Regions from separate parts of the Homo sapiens genome. Here region 2 is linked to region 1. The links are contacts of gene promoters, found by promoter capture Hi-C in blood cells and fetal thymus (Javierre and others, 2016). All regions are on one chromosome and are shown on one strand. The core of a region is centred on a gene start or on the middle of the fragment in contact, and the rest is flanking DNA. Distances in the headings are between cores, read along the strand shown. Region 1 holds the start of BIRC3 (baculoviral IAP repeat containing 3). Region 2 overlaps TMEM123 (transmembrane protein 123).

Evidence for each region. Contacts are between HindIII fragments. The CHiCAGO score rates a contact against its expected background, and 5 or more counts as called.
Region 2: a fragment that was not itself captured here is called in contact with the fragment with the promoter of BIRC3 in region 1 in 5 of 17 cell types (activated CD4 T cells, non-activated CD4 T cells, total CD4 T cells and 2 more); the score reaches 9.0 in activated CD4 T cells.

Annotation. Positions count from the first base shown.
Region 1 is chr11:102,313,606-102,319,917 of GRCh38, reverse strand. BIRC3 (baculoviral IAP repeat containing 3) reads right to left here and starts at 2,434. Exons shown (of 9, transcript NM_001165.5): 1 at 2,347-2,434. It overlaps LOC124902739 (a long non-coding RNA gene), which reads left to right and starts at 2,675. Exons shown (of 2, transcript XR_007062864.1): 1 at 2,675-2,832; 2 at 3,346-4,023. It also overlaps the pseudogene RNU6-952P. RefSeq lists enhancers at 183-262, 1,443-1,642, 2,444-2,803, 2,814-2,883, 1,788-2,987 and 1 more. The HindIII fragment of the contact is 7,438 bases long and covers 1-6,312 here.
Region 2 is chr11:102,425,634-102,431,945 of GRCh38, reverse strand. All of the region lies in intron 2 of TMEM123 (transmembrane protein 123), which reads left to right. Among named protein-coding and RNA genes, the nearest start is that of TMEM123, 24 kb to the left of the region's middle. RefSeq lists enhancers at 1,897-2,046, 2,127-2,186 and a silencer at 2,811-2,988. The HindIII fragment of the contact is 3,918 bases long and covers 1,437-5,354 here.

The DNA.
Region 1 (6,312 bases), core at 1,185-3,684:
CACTCCAGCAAGGCATATATTTGTGGAAATTTAGGCAACAACTATACAATAAATATACACAAATATGCCAAGATGTCAACCCTAGATCACTTCAACCTCTGTCCTAATCATTTCCAACACCTAGATGCAACCCTGCAGACTGGGACCAGCATCACTTAAGACTCCTCTGCCATCCCTTAGCAATAGGCTCAGCTCCCTAGCCCATGCCCTATGCACCTCTTCTAAACCTTCAACACCTTCCTCAAATTTCTCCACTGCACTCCATCTCATTTTCAGTCAATTACTTTGCCTTCTGTTTCTCAAAGAAAAGAGACATCATTGAGCAGGAACCTTCTCACGTTCTCATATCCAAGCCGTTTTGGCTCACAACCTACTTGCTGTCTCAGTTAAAGACTTGCCCCCTTATGGGATCCTACACTGTCCTACTGCCTCAGAAATCTTGTTCTTAATCCCATCCCCTCATTGCTTCAACTCTCATTCCTGTCACTCTCGACTGGCCTTTTTCCTTTCACATAACCATGCTTAAATCTATCTCAACTTTCAAATGAAAGAAATTTTTAAAATTCTCTTTCGGCCGGGTGTGGTGGCTCATGCCTGTAATCCCAGCACTTCAGGAGGCTGAGGCGAGTGGATCACGAGGTCAGGAGACTGAGACCATCCTGGCTAACACGGTGAAACCCCGTCTCTACTAAAAAAAATACAAAAAATTAGCCGGGTGTGGTGGCATGCACCTGTAGTCCCAGCTGCTCAGGAGGCTGAGGCAGGAGAATCGCTTGAACCCGGGAGGTGGAGGTTGCAGTAAGCCGAGACTGCACCACTGCACTCCAGCCTGGGTGACAGAGTGAGACTCTGTCTCAAAAAAAAAAAAAAAAAATCCTCTTTCAACCACACTTTCCACTCTAGCAACTACCCTGTATCACCCCTTCTCTTCACAGCCAAGCAAACTGGACATGTGTGTATGGTTAATGTCTCCATTTTCCCTCTCCCATTTACTCATTAAGTCAGCATCACTTAAAACTGCTTTCGGTGTTAATAACACCAATGGCTTTTTTGCTAAAACCAATGGAAATGTTTGCATCTGACACTGGGACACACTTCCTCTTAGAAATGTCCCATTCCCTGGGCTTCTCTGATACCAAGCTCTTGGGATTCTTCTTTCATTTCTAGTGGTTCCTTCTCAGATTGGCTCAGTCCCCAGCCTCTCCTCTTCTGACTCATTCATTTAACCTACCAAGAAGGCAACCTCCCCAGTCCCAGGGCTGTTGGGCATCCCTACCCTTTGGGCATGCAGCACATCCATTTTTCTGACACTGGAGGGCAAGTGTGCCTTTTCTTTCTGCCTCCCGCTAGACAGTAAGCTCTTTTAGAATGGCAACTATTAATATGTTTCATCTCTGTACCTGCCCTCCCACTCATAGCATCTGCAGAGCTTGGTATATGGGGTAGACACGAAGACTTCCCGTTGAAGAAGTAAATGACTGAGACCTGAGTGACCACAGTACTTCTATCAATTTTATATTAATGACCACAGAGTCAGCTCAGTGATTGATTAGTATCAGGCTTTGGAGTCAGACATCGGGGGTGCCCAATACCAAGCAGTCCGGTAACCAGAAGCATGACCTTGCACAAGTAAATCTCCAAGAGCCTCAGTTTCCTCATTGTCAAATGGAGATAATTATGGTACCTGCTTCTTAAGATTATGATAATTAAACGTGAAAAATACATGTAAAGTCTTCAGAGACAAACCTAGCACATAGCAGGTAGCAGTACTTAATGTTAGCAATAAATAATAGCAAATAAAGTCAATATTTAATATTATTGTTACGTTAGCATCAGGTACATGCCTTCGACAATGTATTGATCAGAGTAAGAGCACTACTAGGTTTCCATGCTGATCACCAGGAAGACAACCAAAAACTGCTGTCTTCCTACCACCGCTTGGAAACATGCGTCCATTTGCTCATTAAACGTTTTACTTCCTTCCTGTGCCAGAGCTCTGCCTTAGGCTCTGTCCTGAAATTTATTTGGCACCTGCAAAGGCCCAGTGATAACTCTTGGCAACCGAATCAAAATGCCACAACTTCACAATTCCACTGGCTCACTCCAAACGTGAAATAGAAATTGAGCACCTGGAACCTATCTAGAGCCTGCTTTTGGGCCCTGGTGTTTGATAACTGCGCCCCACCCACTGACTCTCAACCTCTGCAGCGCCCCGGGCTCTAGCCCTAAGCGCCCCTCGGCCAGCCGCTGGCACATCTCTTACACCAGGGGAGGCGCGCGCGCGCGCACACATACACACACACACACGCACACACACACACACACACACCAGCCTTCCTTGCCCACCTGCTGCCCAGAGGCCGACGACGCATGCACCAGCAAGGACAAGCCCAGTCTTTTCAAGCGACACCTGTCGCCTGGCCTTTTCCGTGCCGGAGGGCGCGAGTCTCACGCTGTCTTTTAAATGCGTCACCCAAATCCCCACCCCTATCTGTACCAGGCGTTCCGCACTCCTCCCAGTGGTTTGCATGTGCACTGGTGCTTTCCTTTTAGGACTTAGGGGAACTCCAGCGGTAATAACCACACACACTTCCTCTTAATCAGTGGCCTGGCAAACCCACTCGGGGATTTCCATGACCCAAAAGCATGACTCTTAACCGTGGCATATCTTCGCGGCATTTACTGAAAGACATTTGCTTCATTGCTCGTGGGTCAGAGGAAATCTTGATAACAACCCATATAGAGAGGACGATCATTGCTTAGCCTGCCTGGAAAAGGTCAATATGCCCTGTTCTCCACCCTCCATCCGCCATACACTTTACACGTAAAAAGGTTAGGTTTTTCAATCTTCTACTATAGCTGCAGAAGTCCAGCATTTAAAAAAAAAAAAATCGAAACTTTGTGAAATATTTCTATTTATTTTTACTTTTTGTTCTGATCAAGAAAGTAAGAGGTGAAAGGAAATGTAGGGGTATGTGAAAAAAATCATGCAGTTCTCCTTTGCAGTTTATTTTACCATTTTAAAGATTGAAATGGCTTGGTAAATTTTCTGTATGGAAATACTTTTGTTTGGTTTGGTGAGTTGTTTTTTTTTTTTTTTTAATAAGTAGGGTGGAGTTGGCTACTTAAAAAAATCCCTCCTTTATAGCCTTTGATCTCACAGGGCAGGTTTCTGAGTTGCAGTGCCATTCTCAGGGAAACCTGACATCTTTGAGTCTAATTGCACTGCCATATTTCCCTCAACGTTCTCTAAGCAGTAAATTTAAGCAACTTTATCTGAGAGCCATCCGTACCAGGGTAACAGATGGATTTGGAGAGCTCATCTGATTTTCTATCTTCCAGTAGATCAAAGACAATTACCAACCAGAGACAGAGCCCATAAAGATTATTGGAGACTTCATCGTTCTGTGGAAACAGCATCCAGTGCATTCTGCACGCAATTGGACTGAGCTGAGGCATCCTCTTGTTTAGGTGGACTTGGCTGTCCATAGCAGCTGAAGTTCCAGTTGGAATTATTTCAGAAAGACTAAGTGTATTTATCATATGGAGATTTTAATCCACATTTGAGTCTGCTTCAATCAAGACTTTCTAAGCCATTTTCAACTCACTCCTGAGATTATTGAAAATAATTTGCAGGCCTTACACATTTTTGATTATGTACTCACCAGAAGAATTTTGAAAAGCTCTGCATTCCCTTGCCCATTTTTAACTTAACATTAAAACATAAAGCTCTTGTACATGTCAAGAATCTACAAAATGTAAACATAGATATTTTCAGAAAAAATTGATAGAGCACTCTTTTAAATGTATTTGATGGATCCTAATACCATAGTAATTTGACATACATGATCATCCATGAAGCAATTATCAGGTCATCTTTAATAACTGAAAATATTTTATCATTGCCTTTTGTCATTGAACATTCCAATTCCCCTACAGAATGTTAATACATGTTTGTACTGAACATCTTTTATCATCTCTCTGTCACATATCTCTGAAACAAATACATATTAGAACTTGAAATCTATTTTTTTCTCTGGGATCATAAGGATCTAAGTGTTAAAAAAAAAAAAAATTCCTCTTTGACCAGGCATGGTGGCTCACGCCTATAATACCAGCACTTTGGGAGGCGAAGGTGGGTGGATCATCTGAGGTCAGGAGTTCAAGACCAGTCTGGCCAACATGGTGAAACCGGTCTCTCCCAAAAATACAAAAATGAGCCAAGTGTGGTGGTGCACGCCTGTAGTCCCAGCTACTTGGGAGGCTGAGGCACAAGAATCACTTGAACCTGGGAGGCAGAGGTTGCAATGAGTCAAGACAGTGCCACTGCACTCCAGCCCTGGAACAGAGTGAGACTGCATCTCAAAAAAAAAAAAAAAAAATCCTCTTTGATTACATTATCATTGATATTGTTTTCATTACTTTTAAAGCATAATTGGTCAATACAATATAAAAATATCGTAAATGTTAATAACTGCATTACAAATACAATTTAAGGGGGTGGCAGCTTGTATTTTAAGCAAGTTTTTCAAGTGTGCAGTCATGAATATTACCTATAGCTATAATATGTTAGGGTTCAGCACAGATTCTGTTCCTTTTTTCATTTCTACAGACATAAATGTTGTAAACCTTATTTCACAGAAGTAAGTAGATAAGTAGATAGGCCCAGAAGAAACATTATTATGGCAATTTTTTCACAATTTAAAAAATATGTTTTATATTCCAAAAATCATTTAGTGATCTCTAATCAAAATATGTAATTACTTATCAGTAGACAACTCAATTTTGTTGAAATTGGTGGTTTAGAAACCACTGAACTTTTGGTATCCAGATACAGTTGACAGAGTTAGCAAATTAAAACAGAGAACACCTAGTTAAATTTTGGTTTAATATAAACAATGAATGCATTTCCAGTATAAGAATGTATTGTGCAATATTTGGCACCTAGCTATACTAATAAGTTATTCATTAGTTATCTGAAATTTAGATTCAGTTTGGTGTTCTGTATTTTACCTGGCAACCCTATATCCAGATATTAGAGTCATTCATTTTCTCAACACTAATACAGATCGATTATTTCAAATCATCCAGGAGGTTTCTACACCCAGAGAAATATACGATTTTAAAACTCATGATAGGTGAGAGGTGAGCCTGTCTTTTAAGGGAAGACAGAGAACCATTGTGAAAAGGGAGATGAGAAGACAGAACAACCCTGGCAACCTTCACAGTTCTTGTTTTCAAGCAGATCAGTTTTGGGAGAAGCTACATATGGAAGTTGAGAGTGAGACTATTAATTCCTTAAAACTATTTGAGCTCCCACCTCCCTGTTGGTAAGTCTTTGTAAACACCCAGGGGCACACTTACCCCAGTTTAAAAACTATGGCTGGCCAGGCACATTGGCTCACACCTGTAATCCCAGCACTTTGGGAGGCTGAGGTGTGTGGATCACCGGAGGTCAGGAGTTCGAGACCAGCCTGGTCAACATGGCAAAACCCCATTTCTACTAAAAATACAAAGATAAGCGGGTCATGGTGGCAGGTGCCTGTAATCCCAGCTACTTGGGAGGCTGAGGCAGGAGAATTGCTTGAACCCGGGGAGGCAGAGGTTACAGTGAGCTGAGATCTCGCTACTGCACTCCAGCCTGGGAGAGAGAGCAAGAATCCATTGCCAAAAAAGTAAATAAATAAAAATAAATAAAGACCATGGCTTAAGAAATCCCTGAATTGACTGAGTCTCGCGTTTTTCAAACTGGTCATGAGAGCTAGGGTCAGGCCTAGTAGGTTGGAAGCAAATTAACATGTCTGCTTTGCAACATTTTGCACAATTAAAAAAAAAATGGTTTCCCTAGATAAATGTGTATGGGCAAGCACTGTATATATTTGTTCACTGCATTATTCTAGTACTAGTAGAGTGTCTGCTCAAAGGTGCTCAGTAAACCTTTGTTTACTGACTAACAAAAATAGAGCCAATCTATCCAAACTATCCACTTGGGCTTTCTCTATTCTAAACCTGCATCCACATCTTTAATGGTGTAACCTACCTTGCATTTTCTTTCTAACTCTTTGTATATCTCACATACTTTATTAAAAAAACTCCTCTTTTCCTTTCAACATCCAGCTGTTATCCTTGTGCAGGGGGCATGCTAATCTTCTTGGTAGGGTTCCAATTTTAGTATATGTGCTGCCAAAGCAAGCACAGCCTAAATATATTTTCTCTCCAAATACTCTTATTTTCTTCCAAGCCAGTGAATTCCAAGCTCCAAATACTCTTTTCACGACAGAAATACACAAGGAAACCTTTGAGGAAAGTGAA
Region 2 (6,312 bases), core at 2,146-4,645, 110 kb before region 1:
TCTTCACAGGGTGGCAGGAGAGAGAAAGTGCCAGCAGGGAGATGCCAGACGCTTAAAAAACCATCAGATCTCCTGAGAACTCACTCACTATCATGGGAACAGCATGGGGGAAACTGCCCCCATGATTCAGTTACCTACCACCGGGTCACTGCCATGACACATGGGGATTACAATTCAAGATGAGATTTGGGTGGGGACACAGCCAGCCCATATCACCAAGTTGTAGAATCAACCTAACTGTTTATCAGCAGATGAATGGATAAAGCACATGTGATACATATACACACAATGGAATACTATTCAGCTTTAAAAAAGCAAATGTGCAAATTCTGTCATTTGAGACAACATGGATGGAACTGCAGAGAGTAGAATGGTGGTTCCCAGAAGCTGCAGGGTGGGGAAAAAGGGGAGATGATGGTTAAAGGATACAGAGCCTCAGAGAAGAGGAAAACTTTCTTTTTTCTAGTTCTATTGCACAGCATAGTGAATATAGTTTATCGTGTATGGTACCTTCCAAAATCGCTGAGTAAAATTTCAATGTTCTCACCACAAAAATAAGTATTTGAGGTGATGGATATGTTAATTAGCATGATTAAATTATTCTACATGTATTCATAAATCATAACATCACTTTATACCTATAAATTTATACAGCTGTAATTTGTCAGTTTACAAAGATAAGTATGTGAGGTAATGCCTATATTTATTTAGCGATTCCACATTGTGTACATATATCAAAATATCATGTTGTACACCATAAATACAGTTTTTTTTTAAGTATCCCACCGACTATTTTTAGTTTTTCTTTTTTAATCCAATGACATAAGCACAGTTTCCTAAAATGGGAACTGACCCTCTCCTACAAAACATTTCATTATGGTTATATCTTCATGACATGAAAACAACTAGTTGAAAAGTGATGACTTTTTTAGTCTATTACCTGACTGTTCAGTAAGAATTGGTTTGACTACTTTTTTCACCCCACATTGAATTTGGTTCACTAGTTTAGTGGTCCCTCCCCCATGTCATCCCCACCCAGTATGTGTATTATGTTGTATTTTGGGGAAGATACAAAGAGAAAAATTGCTTTGCTGTTAATTGAATTTGGGCAAGCTACTTAATCTCTGCCTTCTCACTTCCTGCTATGAAATAGAGCTGATTATAGAAAGATGGCTGTCTCATGCGGCTAAGAGAGTATAGCCATCTCATGGGTTAAATGAGGTAACATGTAAAGCACCTGGCACAAAACCAGGACCTAAATAAACGTGTTTTTCCTAGCTCTGTGGCCACACTTACCTTTTTGGTTCCTCCTTTCTCTGCCCTCTCTGCCATGAGACCTTTGCATGTTCTGTTCTCACTACCTGAAGAGCTCTTCCTTTCATCTTTGCCTTTTTCTGGCTACCAGTTACCCTTTCAGCCTTTAGATTGCTCAAGCTTGTTTCCTCAGGTCCAGTCCTAGACCTCTAGGCTTATAACTGGGATACCAGCCTTCAGAGGAGTTTGTGGTTTACTGGCTTATAGTAATGTAATGTGATGCTTCATCTCACTCTGCCTCCCCAACTAGAAAGTCAGCTCCTTCAGGGGGAAGGCTGATTTTACTCACCACCACCTTCCCAGCACCCAGTGCTGTTTTTGTTGAAACAGTAAAGGATATGCGAATGCTATGGGAGGAGTAAACCAGTTTTTGAGTTTTTTGCTTGCTATACCAGCCTTAGTTGTGAGATGGAGCCCCTTGGTCAAAACAAATCACCACCTGCACTCTGGTCTTCTCACTTAACAGGGGAGAATTGCCACAGTTGTCTTCTGTGGTCCCGGGCAACTCTGTTCTTTGCCTCTTTGTTTCCATAAAGATGAAGCCCATCCAGAAAAGGTACTCATGCTGGCTGGGAGAGGTGGCATGGGGAAGGGGATGGACAGAGCAATTTGGAAGATCAGAGAGGCCTCTGCCCCTACGAAGGGCCATGCTTGCCACCAGTCTTCCTGCTGTGTGGTGCTCCCATCGCACAGGCTGCTTCTGGAGATGCTCGGGTTGTTCAGGCCCTGTGGCTTTTGGCAAGGCAGGAGCATCTGTGCTTCTGCTGACATAAAAGAGGGTAATAAAAGTGACACAGGAAAGCGGTGTTGTGAGGCTTTAGTGATGGTGGAGCAGTGTTGCTGAAGTCCCTCAGGGAGTTTGGATTTGATTGCAGTGAGTCTGGCTACATCTGAAGCCTATAATAGTTTACAGTACAAGATGCTATGTATAAGATGTCAAACATTTGCTTGGTAGAATGCTATGATTGTCAGGAGTTTACTTTTGCACTGAAAATAGTCTTGTTGGTTTGGTGTAAGTAGAGTCACATTGCAGCACACACACAGGCATTCATGCTTTTATGTTTGTTAATTGTAAGGAAATGTTTTCTCAAGGCAAGAGTCAAAGGTTAGCAGAGTGCCAAAGACCTTCTCAAAGAGGAAAGTCTCATTTTAGAAACTTCATTTTGTACGCCAAAACTTGCCTTTCAGTAGTCTCATGTAATGTTTTTGCTGACATGAGTTGAAAAGTGCATTCTGTTGTAAAGGAGGAAAAAAACTGAAGAGGAACCGTAAGCGTGATTATGAAGAAGAGAAAAGAGCAGGAAGAAAGTAGACATCATCCCAGATTTAAATTTCATATTGTTAAAATCATTTGGTTGCAAGCAGTAGAAATTTTCTATAACTAACTTAGATAAACAAGGACTTGTTGGACACCTGCTGTCCAACATTCACAAAACCTAAAGAAGAAAACTGAACTAGATCTAGTGTGGCTAGGGATTTCAGGGACAGGAATTAACAAATCTCCTGAGGAGGCTGCCATCAAAATGACTGTGTTAACTGTTGTCCATCCTGGTGTATTCTACTCACATTTCAGACTCCTGCGAGAGGCTGATTGACCTGGTTTGAATCTCGTGCCTACCCACTCGTAGTCCCTCCAGACCCCAGGGGGTGAGCGAAGGGTGTTTGCCTGAAGGAAGAGTGGAACAGGAGCTGGGCAGGGAAAAAAGAACAGATGTTCATTCTACTGGCCACATAGCCACAGTCAGTGGTAATGATTTTCCCTGGCCAGACTTGGTGGCCAGTAGTTACTAGTCTCCTTTCTCTTCAGAAACATCTGCTCTTGTCAGAGTTATAGCCTATTCTTGATGAGCTGCAGCAAAAATGTACCACTTAAATTGGAGATGGATCATTTCCTGAGGATCTCAGAATATCTTTTTCAGTTAGCTTTATAAAGTAATTGTCCAGATGGCCATTTAATTTGTGATATGGGATAAAGTAATCTAGGGGAAAAAACACTTCTTTAAAATGACTTTTTTTTTTTGGGGGGGCCGGGCACACTGGCTTACACCTGTAATCCCAGCACTTTGCGAGGCCAAGCTGGGTGGATCACCTGGGGTCAGGAGTTCGAGAGCAGCCTGGCCAACATGGCAAAACCCCGTCTCTACTAAAAAATAAAAAAAAAAAAAAGCTGGGTGTGGTGGCAGGCACCTGTAATCCCAGCTACTTGGGAGGCTGAGGCAGGAGAATTGCTTAAACCCTGGAGGTGGAGGTTGCAGTGAGCTGAGATTGTGCCACTGTACTCCAGCCTGGGTGACAGAGTGAGACTCCATCTCAAAAAAATAAAATAAAATGACTTTTTTTAAATTGTGAAGAATATAGGTTAAGATTATATTGCAGTAGTAACGTAATAATATATTCAGGATAAAAAATTGAAGTTAGATCTGAAATATCAACATCCTAAACTAAGAAAAACCTTTTAAATTAATGTACTCTTGTTTTTTTCTTCTTAGCTAATAGTAAATAACGATAGACTCACACTCCCAGGAAGGGTGAGGAAGGGACAATTCAGACCTCTCTAGACTCCATGCATGGCCTGGTTAAATCACTTTTTTTTATCAGCATCTCATTTTTCCTTCCAGCAAGTTTATATCCTCATTGAGGAAGAGTGTCTTGCCAGAAGATTATTGTGATAATTTTTATAAGATATGTATATTCTTTTCTGAATCTCAGAGTAAATATTCTTTGTCTTCCTAAATGAACTGGTAGAATGTTTACATTTTCATTCTATTTCTGTAGAATTTTTTTTTTTTTAATTGAAACAGAGTCTTGCTCTGTTGCCCAGGCTGGAGTGCAGTGGCGCGATCTCGGCTCACTGCAACCTCTGCCTCCCGGGTTCCAGTGATTCTCCTGCCTCAGCCTCCCTAGTAGCTGGGACTACAGGTGTGTACCACCACGCCTGGCTAATTTGTGTGTTTTTTAGTAGAGACAGGGTTTCACCGTATTGGCCAGGCTGGTCTCGAAATGCTGACCTCGTGATCCACCTGCCTCAGCCTCCCGAAGTGCTGGGATTACAGACATCAGCCACCGCACCCAGCCATTTCCGTAGAATTTATAGCCTCCCTGTTGCAGTGAGCTGAGATTGTGCCACTGCACTCCAGCCTGGGCGACAGAGTGAGACTCTGTCTCCAAAAAAAAAAAAAAAAAAGAATTTATACCCTCCCTATTTCTTCTCTCCCACTTCTGCCTTCTCTTCCACTTCTGCCTTCTCCCCTTGTTCCTCATAGTCCTTGGGCATGTGCTACTTCAGCAGAGACCTGGGTCCTCTTTTGTGAAATTCAGTCAACAAAAAGCTCAAGGAACAAGTTAAGACTGAAGACTGATCGAGTTCATGTAAGTGTGGTAGGATTGCATGGTGCCATTTGATATTAAAAGGCATGTATTGTTTAAGAAACTAAACAAAAGCCAACTGTGTTTGAACAACAATGTTTGTCAGTGAGCTAGCTAGATATGGAGGATAAAGATATGTATAGTGTGTTCCAGCCACAGACTAGATTGTGAAAAAGAGAACCAGCAAAAAAAAAAAAACCCGCAAAACAAAAAACCCTGCAACTTAATCTCAGAGTTCTCTCCTGTAATAGACAGTAATACATTTATAGTTAGAAAACTTCAATTTGGTTTGGCAATATCCCAACTATAGAACTTCAAATAACTGATATATATACCCAGACACAAAACTTTTTATCAACTGAATAGCCAGTTGTGGATTTTGAGCAATAAATGGGGGGGGGGGGGGAACTACTTTAAAAACATTAAGCCATGAGTTTATTCAATCTGTATCTTTGTCTTCTAGTAAGTAAATTTGCTTTCATTGTTAAACAGCAGCAACAAAGGGACACCAAAGATCTTTGCATACCTTACTTGGTTGTAAACTTTTTGAAGTCAAAGGTAATTTTTCTAACTTCTTTGCAGTAGCTAAAACTTACATAGCAGCCTCTTTAAGCAGGGAAAATTATTGTAAAGAAATTGCTCTTAGATAACTTTCCACTCAAGGGTTTTAAGCTTTTTGTTTTGTTTGTAAAATCTTTTACGATGAGCACTTTGTAAGTCTACTAGTTAGCTCAAAGCAGTTCTCCTTGAGGACCCACATCTACTCCAGGCTGGGAGACAGAGCGAGACACCATCACTTAAAAAAAAAAAAAAAGATAATAAATATAGAGGGAAATGAATTGTGATGCGGGCGTAAAAGTGCTGTCTGCATCGGCTCCCTTCTATTACTGCTTCCTAAAGTTGTTGTGAGGATTAAATGAGTTAATGTAGGTAAGCATTCAGAACAGTGCCTGGCACATAAGTGCTATGGATGTGTTAACTGTTATTATTGTTAAGAACGATCTAAACACAGTGGTCAGGAATGGCAAAGTCAAGAGTTCTGATAGGATACTATGGTTATTTAGACTCAAAAGCAAAGCTGCCAAAATCCAGCTGACCTTCCTTTTGATATTTAGAGGAAATTCTGTTACCTAAGACTGATATTTCATTATAGCCACTCAACAAATGTTCATTTGTACATTCTATGTGTTGGGCACTGTGCCAGGTACTGGGGGAGCTACAGAGACATGACATAAATATCACCATGAGGTGCTTAAAATTTAATTGGAAAGTTAATAAGAACAAAAATAACTATAGTAAAAGGCCAGTATGCTAAGTACAATAATAAAGGTGCAGATAATGTAAGTGAGCACTCAGAAGAGGGAGAGCTTACTTTCAGTTAGGAAAATCTCGAGGGCCGGGCACAATGGCTCATGCCTGTAATTCCAGCTCTTTGGGAGGCAGATTGCTTGACTCCAGGAGTTAAGACCAGCCTGCACAACATGGGGAAACCTGTCTCCACAAAAAATACAAAAATTAGCTAGGTGTGGTGGCACATGCCTGTAGCCTCAGCTTCTCGGGTGGGTGAAGTGGGAGGATCAACTGAGCCTGGGAGGTTGAGGCTACAGTGAGCTGCAACCATGCCACTGCACT